Linked DNA regions of Homo sapiens: all the other regions are linked to region 2. The links are contacts of gene promoters, found by promoter capture Hi-C in blood cells and fetal thymus (Javierre and others, 2016). All regions are on one chromosome and are shown on one strand. Each heading gives the region's core, a stretch centred on a gene start or on the middle of the fragment in contact. The rest is flanking DNA. Distances are from core to core; before and after follow the strand shown.

Region 1 (3,807 bases), core at 350-2,849, 640 kb after region 2:
CCTCCAGAGTAGTTGGGACTATAGGCATCCACCACCATGCCCGGCTAATTTTTTGTAAAAAGTATGAAATTTTGATGAAATTCAATTTATCAATCTTTTCTTTTATGGCATGATTTTGGTGTCAAATCTAAAAATTCTTTAGTCTTAGATTCTGAAGAGTTTCTCTTATTACTTTTTTCTAAAAGTTTTATAGTTTTAAAATTTCACTTAAATCTTTAATCCTTTTTTTTTGGGTGGGGGGGACAGGGCCTTGCCCTGTCATCCAGGCTGGGGTGCAGCCTTGACTTCCTACACTCAAGCCATCCTCCCACCTCAGCCTCCTGAGTAGCTGGTACCACAGGCACATGCCATAATGCCTGGCTAATCTTTTGTACTTTTCTTTAGAGATGAGGTTTCACCATGTTGCTCAGGCTAATACTTTTTGAGTTAATTTTAATTTGATGTTGAAGCTTAGGGCCACGTTCATCTTTTTGGCTTACGGATGTCCAATTGTTTCAGCACCATTGTTGAAAAGTTATCGTTCCTCCATTGAATTGTTTTTGCACCTTTGTGAAAAAGTAACTGCACATATTTGTATGGGTCTATTTTGGGTTCTCCATTCTGCTCCATCAATGTATGTGTCTATTTTATCACCATGTAGCCTTGATTACTGTAGCTATATAATTTGAAATCAAGTAGAGTAATTCTTCTTGCTTTATTCTTTATCAAAATGGTTGTAGCTATTCTAGTTCCTTTGCCTTTCCATATACATTTTACCATAATCTTGTCTACATCTACAAATTCTCTTGCTGGAATTTTGATAGAAATTACATTTGACCTGTATATTGAGAAGGCTGTGAGTTAGGTTAGCAATTTGCAGAATCAATTTCCCTGTAACCATCTCCATTGTTTATTTGCATATATTAATATTCATTGACACACAAGCCAGTGTGTGCCTGTGTGTGCATGCATGTGTGTATGTAAAGAAAAAAGGGGGAGGGAGGAACTTCTTCCTTCTCCTGATTTGGTGTCATATGAGGTATAAGCAGCTCAGTGAGGGTTTGGGGCACAGGTGAAAAATCTACCAAATAAAATCTTTAGATACAACCATTAAGATGTGACCAATTTGGTTGAGGTATTTTGATGCAGGCCATTTAAAACACAGTATCACTGTTGTATTGCCAACTTATATTAGTAACGAATATCCCTGTGTCATTTCTAACCCCCATTCAAATCATGGAGGATTTTCATATTCAGTTGTGTTTATTTTTGTATTGGCCCACATTTTTGTCCTATGTATAAAGTTTAAAATTAATTTTTAAAAAATTTGAATAGGCAATGGATATATTCAAAATTTAAAAAATGTAATACATCATATAATACAATCACAAAAACATCAAAACAATATATGAAGAAGCAAACCTTATATTCTTATAGCCACACTATCCATATCCATTTAATTCTACCCCGCCCCCAACAGGTAACCACTTTTTAATTTGTTTATCATTCCAGGGAATAACCCGCATATATGTTTACATATACACTTAGAGTATTTACTTCAAAACACTATCATTAAAAATGTAAATAAATTTTGACTTTTTATTACTTTGTCTGACAGTAAATATGGTCTATGATCTCAGTTTGTTCCATTTTTAAAAAACACAATTTGTAATAATGTATCTTGAGAGTGAATACCCTCATTTGTAAAATTTTTGTTAAAACTTAAATCTTGGCAAGTTTTCCCCTCACTTTCTTACCTTTTATGTAACAATATTGTTAGATAAATCTGTTTAATTTTAAGGCCTGAAGATTCTTTATAAATCATGTAATCTTACTCAAGACATTTTGAGATCAGGAGAAGAGAAGGAGTGTGTTCAGGACCACAGGGTCAATTTGTGGCAGAGCTGGGAGTGGAACAGAGGCCCAGTCCAGAGCTGCCCTCTGCCCACACTCCTGAATACACCCATTGCTGTGAGATGACTCAGATTTATTGTTACCATGGCTGAAATCCATTGGAAAAATGTTTCTGCCATTCATCTCAATCCTCTGCTAGTCATGTGGTTTATCCTTTATAAATGAGGATTTCTTCTTTTTTGTTGACAGTTTCATGATTTTAGTTGTTTCTGCTCTCTTAACATTTGCCCAGTTCAATGATTAATCCTCTGATCTGAGCCCACTTAGACTGGAGTAATATCTTGCCAATGAGAATGAGCAAGTGAATAATTGAAATTTTTATTAAGGATGAAATTTCTTTACTATGTTATATTTATTATATATATGATAGTTTCAACTTTCTGAGTCTCTCTTGTCAAATGCATTCTTTCTCATTATCTCCTTTATAAAATGTTTAATTTAAATGGTCAGTCTTCTGTTCTTATGCAGGAGAATGTCAGCCTGATCCTCAACCAATTAATACCACGTTTCAAGTTGGGTTTGACTTCTACTAACGTAGTAGTCTGACCCCTAGTGGTTATAAGAAACATCTGCACGGCTTGTAAGCAAATTTTGACTGAATTTTCTGAAAAGTGAATATCGGACAATGAATTTCTCCTTGAAAATAAATAAAATAAAAATAAGAGAAGAATTTTGAGTCCATAGAAAAAATAATAGGGAAGTTCAGGTAAAATCATGTTTCTATAAAAATAATTTCAAATCGGTATTTTTACTGATTTTTTAGTATTATGTGATCAGGCTGCACTTATGTAACACATTTATGGTGAACATAACACACTTATGTTCCAGGAATTCATTCTATGTTATTTATTGGAAACAAAGCTTGTTTGCCCCCAAAATTAATGTTTTGTCATTGTCCCAGCATGCCCTTTCTAGTCTGCGTAGAATTGGGATCAAACTTAGAGCTGGATGACATTTTTGTGGTCTGAAGATCAGAGAGCCAGAAAGGACTGGCCACAAAGTGAAGTCACAAAGTGAAATTATCAGTAAATCTAAGCAAACTCTGTCTTTCATGAGGCCCTGAGGTCTAGGAGGGCCTGAGTCACATCAGGAGAGTACAGCCTGCCCTTGATTCTTGGGAGCTGGGAGGCAAAGTCGTGCTGCAGGGGAGAAGGAGGAGGGTCTCAAGAGTGCAGATCCAGAAAGGAACAAACTGTAACAACTATAAATGCAGTATGTGCTTACTGTAAAAATGTCCAAACAGAAGGATATGAAGTAAAAGGTAAAAATTCCTCCTTTTTTTCCAGCCTGAGTTCCGCCAAAACCATAGCCTAGAACTATGTACTTAGACATGCAACCACCAGACATTTTTTTGTGTGCATGCATGTGCGCACGCGCACACACACACACACACACACACACACGCACTGTCTTATTTCACATGGGTTCATGTTATACATATTGTTCTATAAATTGATTTCTTCACTTAATAAAATATCTTGGACATCTTTTCAAGTCAGTATATTCTTATTGTCTGCCTATCTACTGTTCTGATACAAGAATGTGGGCTAATTTATTAACTATCCTTAAGTAATTTACATGTAGATGTTTTTAAAAATTTTCTGCTATATAACCAGTGTTTTAATAAACATCCTAGGGCTTGTAACTACAGACTTATACAAGTATATGTGTGTGTATATATATATATATGGAGTAAATGCCATTAAAATGAAATTTTAGGTCAAAGCTTATGCATAATTACAATCTTGACAGTTAATAAAAGCATATTTTTGAAATTGATATTGTCCCATCTCCCTTTCTTCACTTATTCCTTGTTCCTGGTGCCCCTTCCCAGGCCCTGATGGCTTTATATTTCTCTTTCCCTTAGTCAACCCTGCCCTTTGTCCTTTATGCACATCTAACCTTTTCTTTTGT
Region 2 (3,901 bases), core at 1,249-3,748:
GAGCTCCTCACTTATACATCTAGTTCTGATGCCCCTTCTTCCTTTCTTGGGACCGTCATCCACATTCTCCACATCACCCCATGCCCCCAGTGCAGTAGACTGGAATGGATGGTCAGAGGCTGTCTTGGACCACGGGAGGACAGCAATTCCTGTGATGCTCACCCTGTCACTGACTGACAACCTTCTGACCCCATCTCCTTCTAAGAGCATTCTGGTCCCTGAACAGTGAGTTTTGGAGAGGAAACCTAGTTGGAGGATCACCTTAAATGCAGATTTTGTCTTCCTGGGATTGCCCACACACAGCTGAAGATTGTGGTCAAAGTCTCTGAAGTGGCTGCAGGCCTGGGGATCCATGAGTCTCAGCTTCACCTCTTGCAGAGTGTCTGAGCCCGGCTTCAACACACCTGTTCTTCCCCAGCCAGCCACCCGGCACATTCTCCCAGGTGGGACAAAGTTGAATTGGGATGGGAAGGGGAGTGTCCCCACAGCCAGGGTCAGGCTGGCTTTCTCCTTCAACTGTGAAGGGAATGAAGGACTGTCAGTCCTCGAAATGGGCTCTGGACAGTTGGAGGTGATCAGGGAGGGACAGGGTGAGTAGCTTCATGTTATAGCCAAGTCCTAAGAAAAATTCAGGGCAATGAGGACCTGAAGGAGAAGCTTAGGAGAATGGGAAGTGGAAAGGGAGAAGAGAGGTGTTGTCACCTTTAGTAACATGATATCGTGGTGAAGAGTAGAAGTGTTATATTTTGGATGACGGAATTGCTTTATAACCTCAAGCTTCTGCCATGTGTCTTCTTCCTCTGTTATGTTATGGGCTCCAAGGGTGACTGTTATAGACCTGTTGTGAGGAAGAAGGAAGGAAAAGGAGCGACAGTGATGGCTTGGGGTTTCTTCTGAGGTGAGCTCATTCTGAGAAAAGAGGACTAAACTCTGTCACTGGGTCGCCGGACTCTACCCATCTCCCTTTTCATGGGCCACTTGTGGCATTTGAGGGCTCAGGCTTAACTCATGAAAGAGCTTTCTCAGGAAACAGACACAATTTCTACGACCCCTGGAATTGCTGGGGACTGAACAGGCCAGGGAGGACTCAGGGGACAGGGTTCACACTTCCTAATTCAGGGAACCCTGCATGAGGGCCAGCCCCTGAAGCAGGAGATATCAGTTAAACGGGAAAGTGGGGGTCTCATGTAGACCCTGTTCTCTGCCTCCCATAAAATGATGGGTTCAGGACCCTGAGAACTAGAGGCCAGTGTTCTTGAAAAGGCCATAGAGGAAGTGGCCCTGAGACTGGGTGGGGCCCTGAAAAGTGAGCCGTGTGTCTTGAGTTGGGTAGGGGTGAGGGGTGCTACTGCAACAAGAGGGACCTTGGACAGGACCTCCTTTTCCTCCGAAGGGGAGCTTAGCTCACAGTGACTGAGGCTCAAGGAACTATTCAAACACAGACTAAAGTCTTTCAGCCCAAGTCTTCCCTCTCCTGAAAGTTGACAAGACCCAGGACCCCCTCTTCAGTCCCCAGTGCAGGTGTATTCCTGGATGCTACTCTGGTTGTTCATCTCCCATTTGGAGATAAATAGACCCTGTTGTCTCACCTTCCTGCACAATGAGCAGCCGTCAGCACAAAGTTCCGTCTTATAAGGAAACCACCACAAAATTTTGAGGGACCGTTGGAAGTTACAATTTCCAGGTAGGCCATGTAGGGGCGGGAATGTGGCTTGCATTCTGTGCCCCCGATGATCTCCCCTGGAACAGAGCACCCCAGGGTTTGAACACGGCCATAGATACTCTCTCCAATGAATGGACAAATTGGGTTAAAGCTGAGCTAGGCTTCCCTGGAATCTCATTCTCACCCTGTGTTCCGCCCATCTTCCCTCTCCTGTCTCCTGTATTTCGTATCTTTCCCCACCCATAACCTCCCAGGTGAAATCTCATTCTTGCCTCTGCTCCATTCTGATGTTTTCATCTCAGACTTCTCCCACTCCCACCTTGCCCTGGCCCACCCTCCTCTGTCTCTGTGTAGGACCCACTGTCCAGGTTCCTGTTTTAGATTTCTCCATAGCTCTTGAGCATGGTCACAGAGTGAGAAAGTCACAAAGTAATGGGTAGCCCTGATGCTCAGAAGATTAAGAGGACATGTCTGTTTTCCTGGGGATACCCCTTTTCCTTCCACTTGCTCTGGGCTTTTCTACAATTGAGGTGAAATTCCTTGTTCCTGGGGGCTGTCCTAGGCTGTAGAGAATGGCAGTGGGTGGGGGTGGGGGTGGGGTGGCACACATCCCAAGTGGAAATTTCCCTCTGGGACTCTTGAAGAGAGATCTTGGAACCCTGTTTAGGAGTCAGCTATTTTCAGACTAAACATCTTTGTTTCAGGAGCTGATACTGCAGATTTCAGAGGGAAGAACCCTGATACTCACCAGCTTCAGCTCTGGAGCACAAGAGAAAGAGCAGCAGGGGGAGAGGAAGAAGCAGCATCTTCCCAGAGAGGCTGCCTGAGCAAATGCTGGTTTTCCTTTCCAGTCTTGGGTTTTATAACTCCCAGAAGGCAAGAGAGGGGCAAGGCTGGTAACCACAGGAACTGCATGGTCACGTTTTCTTCTCTCACTCTGAATTGGCTGTTTCTGATCAGAAGTTCCCCTAGAATCACCCAGTGTTTTTCTAGAAAGGAACTTGAGCCCTGAACTCCCAAGTGCTGGCTTCTCAGATGTACCCTCAACTATGGTGACTTTTCTGGAGTTGGGGGCAGGAAATGGAGGGACCATGTTTTTCTTTCCCAATTAGGGCAGCTTGTGAAAGGCCCACTGAACGTTCAGTGCAAAGACTTTTATGGCTATGTTCCATAGTCAGAAATGCATATTGCAGAGTCCCAGTGCATGCACATATGTATGTGTGAGTATGTAAGCACAAATTAAAGGTTTCAGGAAACAATCTTTATCTTAACCATGTGCAGTGTTTTCTGTTAGTTTCCATTCCACTCCACTCCACTCCATTCCACTACACGTCAAAACTTGAGCAACAACCCCATTTAAATGATAATTCCTTGTAATTTGAAAAACATTGACCTGGATCTCTCTCCTCCTCTGAACCACATGTTTTTGACAGAAGAGAGATCCAAGGAGGGTAGATGTGGGAAAAGAACAGACCCTAGGACAGAACTTTATGCAAAGAGCAATTGGGATTGGAATTAGCATTTTCTGAGAGTCTAGGTGTATCATATATTGTCACAACTCTTAGATATATTATTACTTTCACGGCAACCCTATCAATATGTATTACCATTATGATCATTATCATGTCATGATAGTCAATTTTTTAAATCAGCTATCATAGCTTATGGTTCAGAAATAGATTTTCCTGATATCAAATCAAGGTCCCTTTCTGCTCTAGCACTAGAGAGAAATAGAGGAATAGAGTCCTGCCAATGTGCAGGGGAAGTAAAGATGTAGAAGGGTGTTTGCTCCAGAGAGGTTGGGGTTTCCTACTGTTGCATTAAGAATCAAGCTTTCCACAACAACCTGGGGACACACCATTACTGTCACTTTACAATTGTAGAATTGATACTCAGACCCATTAACATGACAAAGATCACACACCTTATAATATCAGAAGTGGGTTTCAAGCACATAGCTTTTATTTTCCCTGGACTTACAGAAAGCAGTCCACATGGTGGACTGTCATTTCTCTTGGAGATTTATAAGGCATTTAGTTCAAAGACGGGGATGAGTAGTGTATAAGTGCCTTTCCCAAATCATCTCACTATGCCCTTGGTCTCAGGTTGGGCTTGTGACCAGAGTGATCCACTCCTTAGTATATATTGGCCAGGTCCTCTGTTGCTTTTAACTTAATTTCCCAAGTTCTACCTACAGCTCTAACTCTCTCTAGAATAAGACATTTAAACACATCCGTA
Region 3 (3,906 bases), core at 1,351-3,850, 620 kb after region 2:
GGAACTGGGTAAGGAGAGAATTTCACACACATCACACACACTCATATACACATATTAATACATATACACACATGCACAAATATACACTTACACATACACACAGACTTACATACTCACAAATAGACACACACATACACACACCAGCATTTATGTATCCTAGGGTAAAGACTTTTTACCAGAGACAAAGCTACTAACTTCCATGGTAGAAGAATATATAAGGCTGGGTGCCATGGCTCATGCCTGTAATCCGAGCACTTTGGGAGGCCAAGGTGGGAGAATTGCTTGAGTTCTGGAGTTAGAGACCAGCCTGGACAATATAGGGAGACCCTATCTCTACAAAAAATTTTTAAAAATTAGCCAAGTGTGGTGGCACCACCTGTAGTTCCAGTTACTTGAGAAACTGAGATTGGAGAATTGCTTGAGTCCAGGAGGTACAGGTAAGACCGTGTTGGCTGTGATTGTGCCACTGCAATCCAGCCTGGCCAACAGAGCAAGACTCTCTCTCTCTCTCTTTTTCTCTCATTGTGGAATGATTATTAAATGATGATTACTCTATATAGTACTATATATATATAGTCATATATATATATTCATATATATATAGTCATATATATATATACACACACACACACATATATATAAAGTCAGAAAACTCCACAGACATTAGACCTCATAAGGCAAGTCACTCTGTGCTTACACATCCCAAATGTTTTGTTCTTCGGAGCCTTTTTAAGAATGGAAGGAAAATAAAAAATGCAAGAACTTTTTATGATTATTTATTGTGCCACTGCTAATTTGAAGCCTGCCACTCATAACAAGGGGAATGATGATTACTATATATATAGAAATATATAGTAATATATTCTATATATATGAAATATATAGTAATATATTCTATATATATGAAATATATAGAATATATTCTATATATAGTAATCTTATTCTATATATAGTAATATATAATAAGATTACTATATATAGAAATATACAGTAATATTTTTATATATATTTTAATATCTAGTAATATATATTACTATATATGTTATATGTAAAACAATATATACTATATATAGACATAGTAACATATATTACTATATATACTATATATAGACATGTCTATATATAGTATATATTGTTTTATATATACTATATTATGTATGCTATATAATATAATAAAATATATAATATGCTATAATATATAACATTATATAATATATATCTCAAAGGATGGTTAAGCTTTCAAAAGGCAGGGATAAAATAAGGGGCAATTTAGGAAAATAGGAATATATAGTATATTATGTATAAACAATATATACGATATATTATCGTATATATTATGTACGATATATTATCGTATATATTAAATACTATATATTATTGTATATAATATATACTATATATAAATGTATATGATGATATCTATATTACTATATATTTCTATGTATATAGTACTATATGTATAGTAATCATCATTCCCCATGTTATGAGTGGCAGGCTTCAAATTAGCAGCGGTACAATAAATGATCATAAAAGGCTCTTGCATTTTTTATTTTCTTCCATTCTTAAAAAGGCTCCAAAGAACAAAACATTTGGCATGTGTAAACACACAGTGACTTGCCTTATGAGGTCTAATGTCTGTGGAGTTCTCTGATTACCATCAAGAAAAGCAGAAGGAAAAACATTGGTTCAGGATCATTTCTACTTATCCTTTTCTTTCCAGGTAAAAGAAATCTTTACCTGGGTCTAGACCAGCAAAAGCTCTTTGAAGCAGGAGATACACATCACTGGGTACGGCTGGTTCTCAAACATGCACTTGATTTTATTCACAAGTCTTACAAATCATCACATGCCCAAAGAAACACCTAGGTGAACTAAAGTTCTGATTTTATACACTCACTGCCACCTGTCACTCACAGCCTGCAAGTCTCTGTGCCAATGTCAGAAGCTGGAAATATATTATGATGGTTAAGATCAGTGCTCCTTATCAGTCATTTTCTAGTGGATTGTAAGTTGCTCATGTGGCAAAGTTAACCTCTTAGGAAGAAGGGGTAGATGGAGAACAATAGAAGAGGTGGAACTAAGTTCTGGGGTACTCCAGCATCAAGAGATTGAGGAGAGGGAACTGGGATCAGTTGGATGTCAGGAAAGCAAAGCAAGAGTGTCATCATGGGAACCAAGAGAAGAGAGAGTGATCAGCTCTATGAAATGACACCCCCATTTTTACATCCCCCAATTCCCCATTTATCTTTCTCAGCTGCAAACATGGATGATTTTCTTCTATGCCGTGAGGTCACTGAACGTATAAGTAGAAATTCCTAGCTCTCAGAACCATTTGGGACTTTTGCAACCTATACAAAACTTCAGTATCCTCCTTTTTTTCCTATTTTATATTTTCTCTTTTGAATTTAATCCTCATGCGATTAGAGTACGCTAAAAGGGACCAAGCTTAGATTAGCAGAAGAATTTTACTAAAGGTTCAAGTATGCGTTTGGCAATGAAATTCCATCCAGTATGTATTTACTAAATGCTTACTAAGTATAAGATGCTATTCTCAATGCTGTAGAAAAAAAATTAAAATTCTATGTTCACTGAAGTCAACATCTCAAATGTTGGCAATGTAGGAATGAAATTATCTTAAAAGAGATAATGCATAATTTGCTGTGGAAGTACAAAGGAGGAAGAGATCACATTCAGCGGGAGGGATTATAAAAAACCTGGAGGAGGATTTAGTGTGTGGGTGGACCTCAAAGGGTTGTTAAGCTTTCAAAAGGCAGGGATAAAATAAGGGGCAATTTAGGAAAATAGGAACAACATGAGCAAAGGCACAGAGATGGGAAACTATAGCTTGTTTTTGGAGAAATGGTCATAGTTAAATTTAGCTGAAGCATAAAGATATGTATGTAAAAAAGAAGTGAGTAAGACTGAAGAAGTGATGGCATATGTCAGAGAGTCCTGGGTAGAGAGGCAGTGAGGCAGGGAGGTGGGGAGGCCACATGGTGAACTGCAAAGAGCATGTGCTTCCCAGCCAGAGATGGGTTAGAAATCAAGGATCTCCCCAAAATATTAGTTCTGCAATAGGATTGTCAAATCATGTCTCCAATCTATAATTTTTCTAATACAAAAGACACGTGTATGCTTACCTTAAAAAAAATCCCACGGCCAAACCAAACCAAACTATGATGTTCATAATGATGGCTGTGAGACTTTTTTGTTAAAGCTTTTTGTTAACAAAAAGTTAAATTGTGTTCAGTGTATCTTGTCTAAGAAGTCAGGAAAGTGAATAGGAGGCTGGGGCTGGGTAAGGGCACCTAGGAGTCACTGAGGATAGCTTTCCTGAGAGAGGTTGGTGTAGGTTGTACAGGAAAGAGGGCTGTAATAAGAACTTTTGTGTTTTGAAGGTTTAAAATCCAACTATACACCCCATTCTGAGGGAGGGAAGAGAGAAAAGGATTCTGGATCTGAGAAGTGGTGAATGTTGGAAGAGTCCTGAACGGCATCCCTCGGGGGTGGGCAGCATTTGGGGAAGCTGGCGTATGCGGCACGAGAGTGCAAGGAAGGAAGAGCTGCAACCACGTGGCTGAGCTCAGCCCTGGGAGATGGGGCCGTCCTTCCTCTGGGAGCCACGGAAATTTCTACCTGGGTCTAGGCGGGCAGAGGCTCTGCAGCAGCGGACACGCATGACTGGGTAGAGCCAGTCTTCAACAGTGCCACCGTGTGGCAGAGAGGAGCAGTGACAGTTATAACTCCGTAGAATTATATGCGGGTTCTCCCAGCCCAGCCTTGAAAACTAAGCAGCTCTCTCTTCCTGGAGTGTGAGGGCTTCAGCATCCAGGGACAAAGCCCAGTGTGTACATGGAGAAGGCTTAAAGAAGCCGATACCGTGCCTCTTGATAATAGGGAATATGA

What was found. The method cuts DNA at HindIII sites, captures the fragments that hold promoters and counts their contacts. A CHiCAGO score of 5 or more calls a contact.
Region 1: a contact is called between a fragment that was not itself captured here and the fragment with the promoter of CMA1 in region 2, in 2 of 17 cell types (erythroblasts and total CD8 T cells). The highest score is 7.1, in erythroblasts.
Region 3: a contact is called between a fragment that was not itself captured here and the fragment with the promoter of CMA1 in region 2, in 3 of 17 cell types (total CD8 T cells, naive B cells and total B cells). The highest score is 5.9, in total CD8 T cells.

The regions. Positions count from the first base shown.
Region 1 is chr14:25,148,677-25,152,483 of GRCh38, forward strand. The region is part of intron 2 of LINC02286 (long intergenic non-protein coding RNA 2286); the gene reads right to left. Among named protein-coding and RNA genes, the nearest start is that of LINC02286, 5.7 kb to the right of the region's middle. The HindIII fragment of the contact is 2,305 bases long and covers 448-2,752 here.
Region 2 is chr14:24,505,767-24,509,667 of GRCh38, forward strand. CMA1 (chymase 1) reads right to left here and starts at 2,499. Exons shown (of 5, transcript NM_001836.5): 1 at 2,412-2,499; 2 at 1,590-1,740; 3 at 703-838; 4 at 262-516. The coding sequence starts at 2,469. RefSeq lists an enhancer at 1,108-2,307. The HindIII fragment of the contact is 2,718 bases long and covers 776-3,493 here.
Region 3 is chr14:25,129,294-25,133,199 of GRCh38, forward strand. The region is part of intron 3 of LINC02286 (long intergenic non-protein coding RNA 2286); the gene reads right to left. Among named protein-coding and RNA genes, the nearest start is that of LINC02286, 25 kb to the right of the region's middle. RefSeq lists silencers at 3,570-3,864, 3,766-3,815. The HindIII fragment of the contact is 315 bases long and covers 2,444-2,758 here.